Linked DNA regions of Homo sapiens: all the other regions are linked to region 3. Evidence: promoter capture Hi-C in 16 types of primary human blood cells and fetal thymus (Javierre and others, 2016). All regions are on one chromosome and are shown on one strand. The core of a region is centred on a gene start or on the middle of the fragment in contact, and the rest is flanking DNA. Distances in the headings are between cores, read along the strand shown.

Evidence for each region. Contacts are between HindIII fragments. The CHiCAGO score rates a contact against its expected background, and 5 or more counts as called.
Region 1: a fragment that was not itself captured here is called in contact with the fragment with the promoter of PCDHA7 in region 3 in 1 of 17 cell types (fetal thymus); the score reaches 5.3 in fetal thymus.
Region 2: a contact is called between a fragment that was not itself captured here and the fragment with the promoter of PCDHA7 in region 3, in 4 of 17 cell types (M1 macrophages, fetal thymus, erythroblasts and 1 more). The highest score is 10.7, in M1 macrophages.
Region 4: the fragment with the promoter of PCDHGB6 here is called in contact with the fragment with the promoter of PCDHA7 in region 3 in 3 of 17 cell types (erythroblasts, fetal thymus and M1 macrophages); the score reaches 6.6 in erythroblasts.

The regions. Positions count from the first base shown.
Region 1 is chr5:141,423,256-141,425,955 of GRCh38, reverse strand. The region is part of intron 1 of PCDHGA1 (protocadherin gamma subfamily A, 1); the gene reads right to left. All of the region lies in intron 1 of PCDHGA2 (protocadherin gamma subfamily A, 2), which reads right to left. The region is part of intron 1 of PCDHGA3 (protocadherin gamma subfamily A, 3); the gene reads right to left. The region is part of intron 1 of PCDHGB1 (protocadherin gamma subfamily B, 1); the gene reads right to left. It also overlaps PCDHGA4, PCDHGB2, PCDHGA5, PCDHGB3, PCDHGA6 and PCDHGA7, and 9 more genes. Among named protein-coding and RNA genes, the nearest start is that of PCDHGA11, 3.6 kb to the right of the region's middle. The HindIII fragment of the contact is 609 bases long and covers 1,146-1,754 here.
Region 2 is chr5:141,353,077-141,355,776 of GRCh38, reverse strand. All of the region lies in intron 1 of PCDHGA1 (protocadherin gamma subfamily A, 1), which reads right to left. The region is part of intron 1 of PCDHGA2 (protocadherin gamma subfamily A, 2); the gene reads right to left. All of the region lies in intron 1 of PCDHGA3 (protocadherin gamma subfamily A, 3), which reads right to left. The region is part of intron 1 of PCDHGB1 (protocadherin gamma subfamily B, 1); the gene reads right to left. It also overlaps PCDHGA4 and PCDHG@. The HindIII fragment of the contact is 1,117 bases long and covers 706-1,822 here.
Region 3 is chr5:140,832,905-140,835,604 of GRCh38, reverse strand. PCDHA7 (protocadherin alpha 7) reads right to left here and starts at 1,336. Exons shown (of 4, transcript NM_018910.3): 1 at 1-1,336. The coding sequence starts at 1,221. All of the region lies in intron 1 of PCDHA1 (protocadherin alpha 1), which reads right to left. All of the region lies in intron 1 of PCDHA2 (protocadherin alpha 2), which reads right to left. The region is part of intron 1 of PCDHA3 (protocadherin alpha 3); the gene reads right to left. It also overlaps PCDHA4, PCDHA5, PCDHA6 and PCDHA@. RefSeq lists an enhancer at 1-43. The HindIII fragment of the contact is 15,813 bases long and covers 1-2,700 here.
Region 4 is chr5:141,406,592-141,409,382 of GRCh38, reverse strand. PCDHGB6 (protocadherin gamma subfamily B, 6) reads right to left here and starts at 1,362. Exons shown (of 4, transcript NM_018926.3): 1 at 1-1,362. The coding sequence starts at 1,180. All of the region lies in intron 1 of PCDHGA1 (protocadherin gamma subfamily A, 1), which reads right to left. All of the region lies in intron 1 of PCDHGA2 (protocadherin gamma subfamily A, 2), which reads right to left. The region is part of intron 1 of PCDHGA3 (protocadherin gamma subfamily A, 3); the gene reads right to left. It also overlaps PCDHGB1, PCDHGA4, PCDHGB2, PCDHGA5, PCDHGB3 and PCDHGA6, and 6 more genes. RefSeq lists an enhancer at 904-953. The HindIII fragment of the contact is 5,535 bases long and covers 1-2,384 here.

The sequences.
Region 1 (2,700 bases), core at 201-2,700, 590 kb before region 3:
ACTAATGTATAGGAAACTAGACATTTTATGAGTTTTCGTAGTGACTGTTTTCCAGTGTTTACTACCAAAGAAGATTCCTTAGAGATGGGAATCTATAGAACAGTCATTAACCCAGCAAAGAGAATTTAAAAGTTTGTTTTTTTCTAAGCAGAAGCAATGCACATATTGGAAGAACTAGGCAAAGTCTTCTCTCCTGTTGTAGAACAAAAACCTTGTGGGAAAACATCCCCATCAAGTGGTATGGGAAAATTTTGACCACTATGAAATGATATGCAGTATTATTTTCAATCTGATGTGCAGATAATTTTCCTCCTAGTTTTATCAGAGAAAACTGGAGGAGCACTGAAAGCTATATAGGGCATATTCAGAATAAAGTTAGCCAAACCCTTCTTATCACTTATAAAAGAGGTTTCTGAAAAGGATTATTGTTTCATGTTTCATCATAAAGAGAATATAAAGGTATAGCCTAGTAGGTTGCCATAGGAATTAATAACATGAAATGTGATGGTGTTTTATTTTTATCCTCTATTTAATGGGACTATATGTTATACCTTAACAGAACTTTATCACTACCTCCGAATCAACATAACCCTCTTAATATCACATTTCAAAGCCAACCCTTCCTTTTTGTTCTCCACGATCTTGGGAAGTTAGTTTAGATGAGGTTTTATAATATGGAACAATCTCCTTTTCCCAGCCAAATACCTCATATCCTTTTTATTTAACTAATTCCAGTCAAAGTACAATGCCTTACATCATTTTTCTCAGTTTGGAATTCCACAAGTATAAATCCTATCCCTAGATGCTCAAAATACCTGAACATTTTTCTTGACTTCAAGAAAAATGTAGGCATCTGTTGGAAGACTTGCCTTTCCTACAGTTGAAATTATTTTTGTCCGAGCCCTAGATAGTCAGTTTACAACTAATGACATAAGGTAAATTCCTAAATGAGAAAACTAAACTTGAAAGGGAACATAAATATCCAAGTAATTTGGGGCAAATACCTAGAAGTGATGTGAGAGTGTTGACTGAATTGATTATGGAAATGATTCCTGTGATCAAAAACCCTAGATAAGTCTCCTTTCCTCATTTGGCTTTCCTAGACATTGCTTCAGATAACATGTATGTCAGGCAACTATCAAGCTTCAATAACAAGTTGGTCTGAATAAAAGAACTGAATGTACTATTTGCCATAAGAATGACCTTATAAAGAAAGAAAGAAGGAATCTATGACTCCCAACTACACTGAAAATGAACAAAAAAATAGCCAGAAGGATACTAGCTAAATCAGTTTAATTAAAGTCCAAATACCTTCAATCTATTTATATATTCACAAACTACTCTATTTGAATAAATCTGTAGACATCTTTAGCACATTTGAAAATAGGTTTTTGAGAAGCACTGAATCAAAATCAAGTTATTTCTATATATGGATTTACTACATTAAAAAACCTTCCATACATACAAACACAGACACCAAAGTAAAAGAATAAAAGGAAATAATACCAGTTCAATAATTCAATTATTTCCTCAGAACAGTCAATGTAACTTCACCATAGTAATGGAAAAGACATCTAGAGCTTAAGAAAAAATGTGATCTAAATTTTATCTCCCAAGGAAATCCAGTAGTTAAAAGCCAGTCAATATGTCTGTGTTGATAGGATGAAGAAATGAGACAAAGTTGAAATAGTCAACAGGATCTAAGCATATTACCAGCCACCAAGAATCAAAATAAAATTGCTCAGAGAAAAGCTTACGTGTATAAGTGTGTGTGCATGTGTATAGATAGATAGATGAGAAGGAGAGCTAGAGGGAGCATGCTATTAAATCAACAGGATCAAAATTTGAACATTAGCAGTAATAGCAAATAATGGTGGAATATAACTACAAATCAGTGAAGGCACAGCAAAATTGAAATGGAAATAAAAAGTGTTTGTGAATCATTAATTTGTATCTATATATAATAAATTGAGAGCCTCATACACTGATAATAGAAAAATAATACTAAAATTCAACTTACTTCAAACCAAACCAGCATAGTTGAATGGCCCCTTTGAAATCAAAAGAAAATATGCCAAGATTGAAAAATGACTTTCACAAAAACGTTCTGAAAGATTATCGTAATCTCATGAAAGGCAAAGTAAAACTCACATGTATTGCTCTAAATATATATGAACTAAATATATGCCGCCCCACCCCCCCCCCAAACAGTTTTCATAACAGGCTCAAAAAACATCTCCTTAAAAGACTTGTGCCAAGACACCAACAATTAGGAGGCAGAGAAATAAATCTCACCTGATTACTTGTCGGGTCACATTTGCCTAAAATGATAGCTGAGTCTTCAGCTATCAAGAGTGGCTCGCTTTTCTCACAGCTCTCCTGGCTGATGAGCGTGTCCCCATAGTTGGGCTGGGGGAAAATCAGGTGACTCTTCTGCGAGTCCGCAATGAGAGAGACCTCGTGGGAATAGGTTTGCAGGAAAGCCTGTACCCCGTCCACGCCTACAAAATGTGACGTGGGCATACCTGCCAACCCGCCTTCAGAAGCCTGCAGCAGGCGTGACTTATGCCAGCGCCACAGCCTGAGTGCCAGCAGCACGATGACAAAGACCAGGAAGATGCAGGAGACTGCGGCCACCGCCACCACCAAGTACAGCGAGAGGTCTGAGGTTTCAGAGTTAGCCAGAGACTCGAGGCTGCC
Region 2 (2,700 bases), core at 15-2,514, 520 kb before region 3:
TGGGTACTTAATCCCATCGGCCCCACTTTGCACGTCCAGGGAAAAGTAACCGTTTGAGTTGAGCTGGTAACCCTGCAGGGAGTTTACACCTACATCCGGATCAAAAGCTTCAGGAAGAGGAAATCTTGCCCCAGGATTTTCATTTTCAGCAACTTTTATTTCCCTCTGTTCTGTCCCAAAACTGGGTGGGTTATCATTAACATCGATTATTTCCACCTCTACCCGCAAAATCTTCACTGTATCTTCTAGAAGAATCTCCAGGTTTGTCACACAGTTTGGAGATCTGTCGCAGAGCTCCTCCCTGTCTATCCTACCCGCGGTGACCAAGGTGCCGCTGCGCGGGTTCAGGGCGAAAAGCTGCGTCCTACCTCTGGAGACGATGCGGACTCCGCGCTCCGCCAGCTCCCGGGGCGCCAACCCCAGGTCCTTGGCGATGTTGCCCACCACTGAGCCTTCTTCCTGCTCCTCAAACACCGAGTAGAGAATCTGTTCGGCCCTGATTTCCACCAGAACCCCCAGGAGAAGGCAGATCTGGAGCAGCCGGGTGTGGTCTGGGCGAGCAGGAGGCGCCGCCATTACAACCCCGCCGCGGAGTCGCCTGTGCTTCGGTTTTCCCTCTGTCGAGGCCTGAGGAGCCCCAGGATCTTCTGGGTCCAAAATAAAGTGCATTCACAGCCAGAGCTCTCAGGGCTTCCGCTTGAAGCTTTCATAAAGCTCCAGAGCCAGTGCTTTGTGCTGCAGAAATCTTGTGATTCTGATTAAATTTCTGGTTTGTCTTTTCCCCCTGATTGGTGAACAGCGACACCCAGAGTCTTAACCTGTTACTGCAATTTATTCTTGGTTAAAAAAAGTTTATTTTTTATACACTTTTCTATTCCTATTTCTCCCAAGATAATAAAGTCAAATTCCTGTTTTTGATTTGCAATGAAAATTCAAGAATGATCCAAGTCTTCCTGTACAATAAACTTTATGAAGTTATTTATTTTCTTAGAGAAAATATGACGATTTTTTTCCTAAGATGTGTTCTTCCTCTTTTCAGTTTTCACATTGTTCATCCCCACAGCCCATTCTCAGTATAGCGTATTGTGTGAGGGACATAATTATCTCTCCTAAAGACAAAGGTGGACTTGAAAAATGGATGAGACAGATAAGTGAAAAGACAGTGGGACAGGAACTTGGAGGTCTGGCTTTAGTCCCAATTTATGCAGTAACAAGTTTCCTCACAGGAGTTGACCCTCTAGAACCTGGGGCAATGCTTCAATTCCCTTGCAAAAAACTCACCTACTGTTCAAGAGTTAGCCTTACCCTGTACAAATGAGATTGACAAATAGGATAATAGGTTTGGGAAGAGAATTTGCTCCTTAATTTTGTGTACAGTAGATTCTTGGCCACAAGCTATGCATATGACTATCTTGTTCACAATGTGTTCTCAATCTTTAGAACAATACCTTTCATAGAGTAGTAATTTTTATGAAACCTTTCAATGTTTCATGAATGACCAGTTCAAATGCAAAGCCTAAAACAATGGGTAAATAACTCTGATCTTAAAAATAAAAAAGAAATAAAAAGAAAAGTTAGACTGAATAACTATAAAGTGCAGATAATAGTTTAGTGATTTTTTCACATGACACATTCAGTATTATTTTACAATTTCTAACTTTACTTTAGCTCTCATTTTAGAAATAGCCAGTAAAAGGAAATGTTTTGGTAGCCGAACATGGATTATCATTGCATGTGCCATCGCTTTCTTTCTTATGAATACTTACAGTAATTTACTAATCTGTGAAAATTTGAGATAAAGCAGTACATCAGTTCTTAAGCTTATTCCTCACTTAACAATTAGCAGTAGAAATGACTCATACAAAAGGGCATTAGCTATACAGAATTTAAAAACCCTCAGACTTTGAGAGAGTAGATTAAACGTGTTTTTCACAATCCTCAAAGACCGCACAAACTGCGGATGATTGAGAGGTGAAATAAGATGTTTGGAAATAAATTTGACAGTATGCATTAAAAAAATCTCAACATGTTTATAGATTTAACTAATTCCTCAGAAATCTACACTAAAGAAACAAGAAGTATGGAAAACGCTTTATAAACCCAAATGTTCATTACATTCTTTGTTTTAATAGAGACAAAATAGAAAGAGCATAAAAACAAATAATTTAGGAATGGTTAAGAAAATTATGAAATATCATTGACTGAAATTATAGAGTGGGAATAATATTGACTCAAAGTTAGTGATGCAAATATAAAATTGGACAATATTTGCTACTTGTGATGAGACAAAGTGTTAAGAGTCTTAATAATTGGAAGGCTGTATTAAACATACATGTTGCTGCAAAAAGACAAACTAGAATGTAATTGATGAAGATTACATTAATTACATAATTACATTAATACATAATTACATCAATTACATAATTAATGTAATTGATGAACTTTAACTTGGGTGGGAAGAACTCTAAATACATTTATAAAGAGCTAAGAATAAAATGACTTGAAAATATAGTATTGCATATCAACTAAGAAAAGGCACTGCTATTACTAAGTGTTAACATCTAGGAAACAGGTCTCTTTAGCAAGATTTGCCAACCATACAGAAATGCCAACAGTAAAGATTGAAAATTAAATTGCCAAGACTACTGAGCAATCAAGAAAGCAATCTCCATCTATCTAGTACCCCCTCCCGCAGTAGAT
Region 3 (2,700 bases), core at 87-2,586:
CAATGAATAGTAATTCTTGAAGGTGGACACCAACTTGAAGGGAACGCGGGGCGTCAGGGAGCAGGTAACCTGTCCGTTGACTCCAAAATCTCGGTCAAACACGCTAATCAATGTGATGACGGTACCTGGTTGGGCGTCCTCTGGAATAGGGAGAGACAGGGAAGTGAGAGTCAACTGTGGAGCATTGTCATTTACATCCACAACTTCCACAAGAACTGTACAATGACCAGCCAGGGGTGGGAAGCCTTTATCGACAGCCTCGACTGGGATCTTGTGTGCTCTACTTTCTTCAAAATCCATATGTCCTATCACTGTGATTGCCCCACTTAAGGGGTCCATGTGGAACTTGGATTTTATATCTGGAGAAACATCACTGGAGAAGGAGTAAATAATATCCCCATTCAAGCCTTCGTCTAAATCTGAGGCATTGGGGTGAATCACCAGCGTTCCGATAGAAACGTTTTCTGGTAATTTCACCGTATACAGGGTTCTGTCGAACACTGGGGCATTGTCATTGTTGTCCAGTACCGTGATGAGTAATTGAACGGTGCCAGTCAGCTCGGGTTTGCCTCCATCGGTGGCCGTGAGCAATAAATGAAGCTCCGGAGTTTCTTCTCTGTCTAAAAGTTTCCGTAATACAAGTCCAAGAGGTTTTACCTGCTGGTTGCTGGTTGGCACGTCCAGGAAGAAATACTCATTGGGGCTCAGTCTGTAAGTGAGCAGGGCGTTCTCCCCGATATCTGCATCGGACGCGCCCTCTAGTGGAAACCGAGAGTCAAGCGGCCTGGATTCCGCGATGAACAGATTCCTTTGTGTCGCTGGGAACACCGGAGGGTTGTCGTTAATGTCCTTCACCTCCACGTCCACATGGAAAACCTGCAGCGGCCTTTCCACGATCACCTCCAGGTGGATGCTGCACTCCGCGCTCCGCCCGCACAGCTCCTCGCGGTCGATCCGAGAATTCACAAACAAAATGCCATTCTGCAGATTTACCTCCAGAAGATCCCCACGGAATTTGCACACCGCCCGGAACAGGCGCGGCACCAGCTCCGCCAGCTCCAGCCCCAGGTCCTGCGCGATGCGGCCCACGAAGTTGCCATGTTTAGCCTCCTCGGGGACCGAGTAGTGGAGCTGGCCTCTCCCTGCCTCCCAAGCTGCTAGAATTATAATAAACAGCAGTAGATGTCGGCCCCCTGGGTCGTATCCATTCGGGCACACCATTTCAAATTATTGGCTTGTTTTTCTAGTCAGCAAAACTTGCCTTCGAATTTATAGGAATGTTTTTATCCCTTCATTTCAATCTCGATGTGTGGCCATTGTTGTGCATCCAAAGAGTGAAAGAGAGTGGAGCGTCTTTCCAGTGCGAAAAGGAATGACTTCCTTTTGCTGATTACGAAAGAATTTGCGGTAAAGAGCGACATCATGTGGCCATCATGTAAGTAAGAATTACAAACCATTACAAACTATTAATCAGATGAAAAGTTTTATTTCAAACTCTGAATTTTTTTCTTCATTGTTGTTAAAGGTTAAAATAGCATTTCTCATGATTGTTAGAAGCATTCTTAGGCGACTGATGGCTTTTGAATACTCAGTGTTACCAGAACTGTAGCTTCCTCATGCCTTAGAAAAACTTTTTTTTCACACAGTTTTAAATAAAGATAGAAACCTAAGTGACAACATGAATTTAAACAACTGCAAGTTTAAATTCCTTTGATCTAGATCCCAGGAAACTTCATATTCTTGATTCAGTATCGCTTGTTAAGAAAAATCCTGTACTCTTTTAGGGACCCAGGATCTCAAGAATCTACTGATTGATGAAAGAGAAACTTAGAAAGCGGTGTGTGTGTGTGTGTTTTCTTTTTAGGAGGCAAGAAACATTAGCAACTATCCAGACACTTCTCTTGGGAAAACAAAATAAGAGAAGGTTTGGGGAATCTTTGAAGGGGAAGAATTTGTATCATGTGAACTTTTTGAGGAGGAAGTATTCTGAATTTTTTGCTTTAGCAGAATCTATATATACTGTTTCAGGAGTTCATCATTTTATATTTGTTTCCTCATTCTATCCTTTCGAACACTTGTGTGTTATGAATATATGCCTATTTTTACAATCTCAAATATGATTTGTATTATTTCTTTTAAAATGTAAGTTTATTTTATTAGATAAATTTCAGTGCTCAGCCATCTCACATACAGCAGCCCTTTGATCAAGTCTTGAGGTATTTCATCCTTTTTGGATCTACCTTACTGTGTTCGTTTTCTGGAATGTTTCACTCCAATGTTCCCAATGGCATGTAAAATAATTATGTCTGTATTCAGATGCTTTCCTAAATAAGTTTTTATAATTGCTGCTCTCCTGGTGTATTGCAGTAGCTTCTTATTGTGTAACCTGTCCATTCCTATTTCATTCTCCTTCATTTAATCCTTGCAGTCATCTTCCGTTAATACTTTTTATTCGTATTGCTTCACACTTTTTGACAGCTTTCAAATGACTTTGAAGAGTGTCAAAATTACTCGTCTAGTACTCAAAGTTATACAAAAGGTTTTTCTCATATTACTTTTCTTGCTTTATATCACACTCTCTCTTATGGGAACCATGTGCTTTACCCAAAGTGGACTATTCCTCATTTCTAGGTACATTTGGAATTTTCTGTATACTCACTTAAGTTACTCTCTTCTCATGAATACCTGTTAGTCTCCATA
Region 4 (2,791 bases), core at 113-2,612, 570 kb before region 3:
TCTTGAATGGAATGTCTGTTTCTATATTACACCTGACTTCTCCATTTCCTCCGAAATCCAGATCCCGTGTTTTGAAGAGGGCAACAACCATTCCTGGAGGTGAATTCTCCAAAATCTGATCAGAGAGAGAAGTGATGATTATTTCTGGGCTGTTGTCGTTTTCATCAAGGATTTCTATGATTACTTTACACTGGGTAGAGAGACCACCTCCGTCCTTCGCTTCCACTTCCATGGTGTACCTTTCTACATCTTCAAAATCAAATGACTGGTTATTCTTAATCATACCTGTTTTCTCATCCAATGAGAACATATGTTTTGTGCTCTGGGCAGTGCTTCGGAAGTAGTAGTTTATCTCAGCATTGACCCCCTCATCCTGGTCAGTGGCTGTCACTTGCAACACAGGGGACCCAGGGGGCAGATTTTCACTAAGACTAATTCTATATTCGTCTCTGCTGAAAACCGGGGGGTTATCATTGGTATCCTTGACAGAAATTTCTATGTGAGCGGTGGCACTTCTTGGTGGGTCCCCTCCGTCCAAGGCAGTCAATATCAAGCTATGAGATCTCTGTTCTTCCCGGTCTAGGAGTTTCTCCAGAGATAACTCTGGGTATTTGCCACCATCGGAATTAACTCTAACCATTAATGAAAAATAAGGATTAGAGTTTATCTTATAATCTTTAATTGAGTTTATGTTTATATCAGGATCCGTGGCAGGGTCAAGCGATAGTCGTGTACCAGCGGATGCAGATTCGAAAATTTCTAAATGTATTTCCTTTTTATCAAATTGAGGGGCGTGGTCATTAACATCCTCAATCACCACAATGACATGAAAAATATTTAAAGGATTTTCCACCACAGCTTCCAATTGCAACTCACATCTTCTTCTCTCTTTGCATATTTGCTCACGGTCTATTCGGTTCTTCACAAGTAAGTCCCCGCTCTCCGCGTCTACGCTGAAGTGCAGCTTCTCCGCGCTCACTCGCAGCTTGCGAGCCGACACATCCAGGACACTGAGCCCTAGATCCTTAGCGAGGTTCCCCACCACCGAGCCCTTGGCCAGCTCCTCCGGAATCGAGTAGCGGATCGGCTCACTCAGGGTGGGGTAGAACAAAGGCAGCAGCAAAGGAAATAGCACCTGCCGCGGGCCGGCCCGGCGCCTCTGCGCGCAGCTCCCTCCCATCGTTCGCTCGGGTTCTCGCTGGGTCCCCGCTTTTCCAGTTGGAGAAAGTGCACTCTACCGCGCTAAAAGAGCATTCGGCCCAGGACAGGAGGAGTCCCGGGTCTCGGAGCTGGCAATCCGCTGTGCTGGGAAAGGTCTGCGCAGCCGGGAGGCTCTGTGTGGGAGCTGGTTTTCTTCTTTCTGTTGTTGGCTGCGCAGGGAATCCCAGGCCAGAGGCTGACGGATCCCCGGCGTCAGCGCTTGCTCTGCACTGGCCGACAGCGGCGCCCAGAGGCTCCGTGCGGGACAGCAGCCCGGTTTTTCATTTTGAATTCGGTCTCCGAAATGTATATATTCTTCGAAAATGCAGGTGTACATCCCCCTCAAATTTTGCTCTCACCATAATATTATAGTAGATATTTCTATGCTTTGTGTTTTAAATAAATCTATTATGCACAATTTCAAACTTATACAACAGTAGGGAGTATATATAGTGAACCTTCACATAGCCATCACCCCACCTTCAACAATGATCACCACAAAGCCAATCTTTGTTTAATATATACTGCGCTCCCCCATTATTTTTAAGTAATACGAGATATAGAATGTCAACCAATGCTTCTTTTTAAGATGAGACATTAAGGTCAAGAATTTTATCTTTCAGCTTATGTTCTACAATCTGTTACCAATGCACAATAAGTTAAGTCCTACATAGCCTAAGAAAAACAGAAATAAAGATTTTCCATACTCCATTCAGTCATCTGTCTGGTGAGCCTCGTGTTCTGGTTTTAAGGGCAAGAGACATTTTTGTGGTATCGAATAGTAACTACCTACCATGACATACAAGCCTTCATGGATATCTGTTATGTTTTCCCCAAATTAACATACATTTCAATATTTATAAATACTAAGTATGAAGGCTACTCCTCAGAACAGAAATTGTAACAATTTTCTTGTTGCATGGTTAAAAATATGAGCCTGAAGTATGCTTTATTTTTTTTGCTACCCACTTAAGGGGGAAAACGTGTTTGAAATAATTAAAATGTCTGTATGTCATAAAGGATTCCCAGACACTTCAGCTTTTTTTTCTTAAAAATAAAGCAACTGAAACCCAAATAATTACAAACAAATAAAACAATTCTTCATTTCCACAGAAATGCCAGCAGTCATCAGTGTATCTATGGATCACATGTTTAGCATAGAATTTTGAGTCAACTTCAAAGCTTATTTTCAAATGTCTTGTGAAATGTTATTTACTATTTGAAACAACACTATGTTTAAAATAACATTAAATAATACATTATTCTCTTCCTTATAGCTAAAAACAGTAAAATAGTTTTAGAATCTTCCCAGCAGTTCCTGAGAATATTTTCTTAAATTATATCTGATATGCAAGTTCATTTCTAGACTCAAAAGTTGGAGAATTGAGCCAGAAATAATATATAAGTGAGAGAAATATTTTTAATTCCTTGTTTTGTCATTTCACAGTGTCCAGTCTTAGAAACTTCTCTTGAGCAAGCATATACTATAGAAAAGAAGAATGTCCTACTATTCTCCATAATTTAACATTAAAGCATTAGGAAATTAAGACCTTTGAAGATATGAGAATAAAAGATGTGACAACTTTCACCA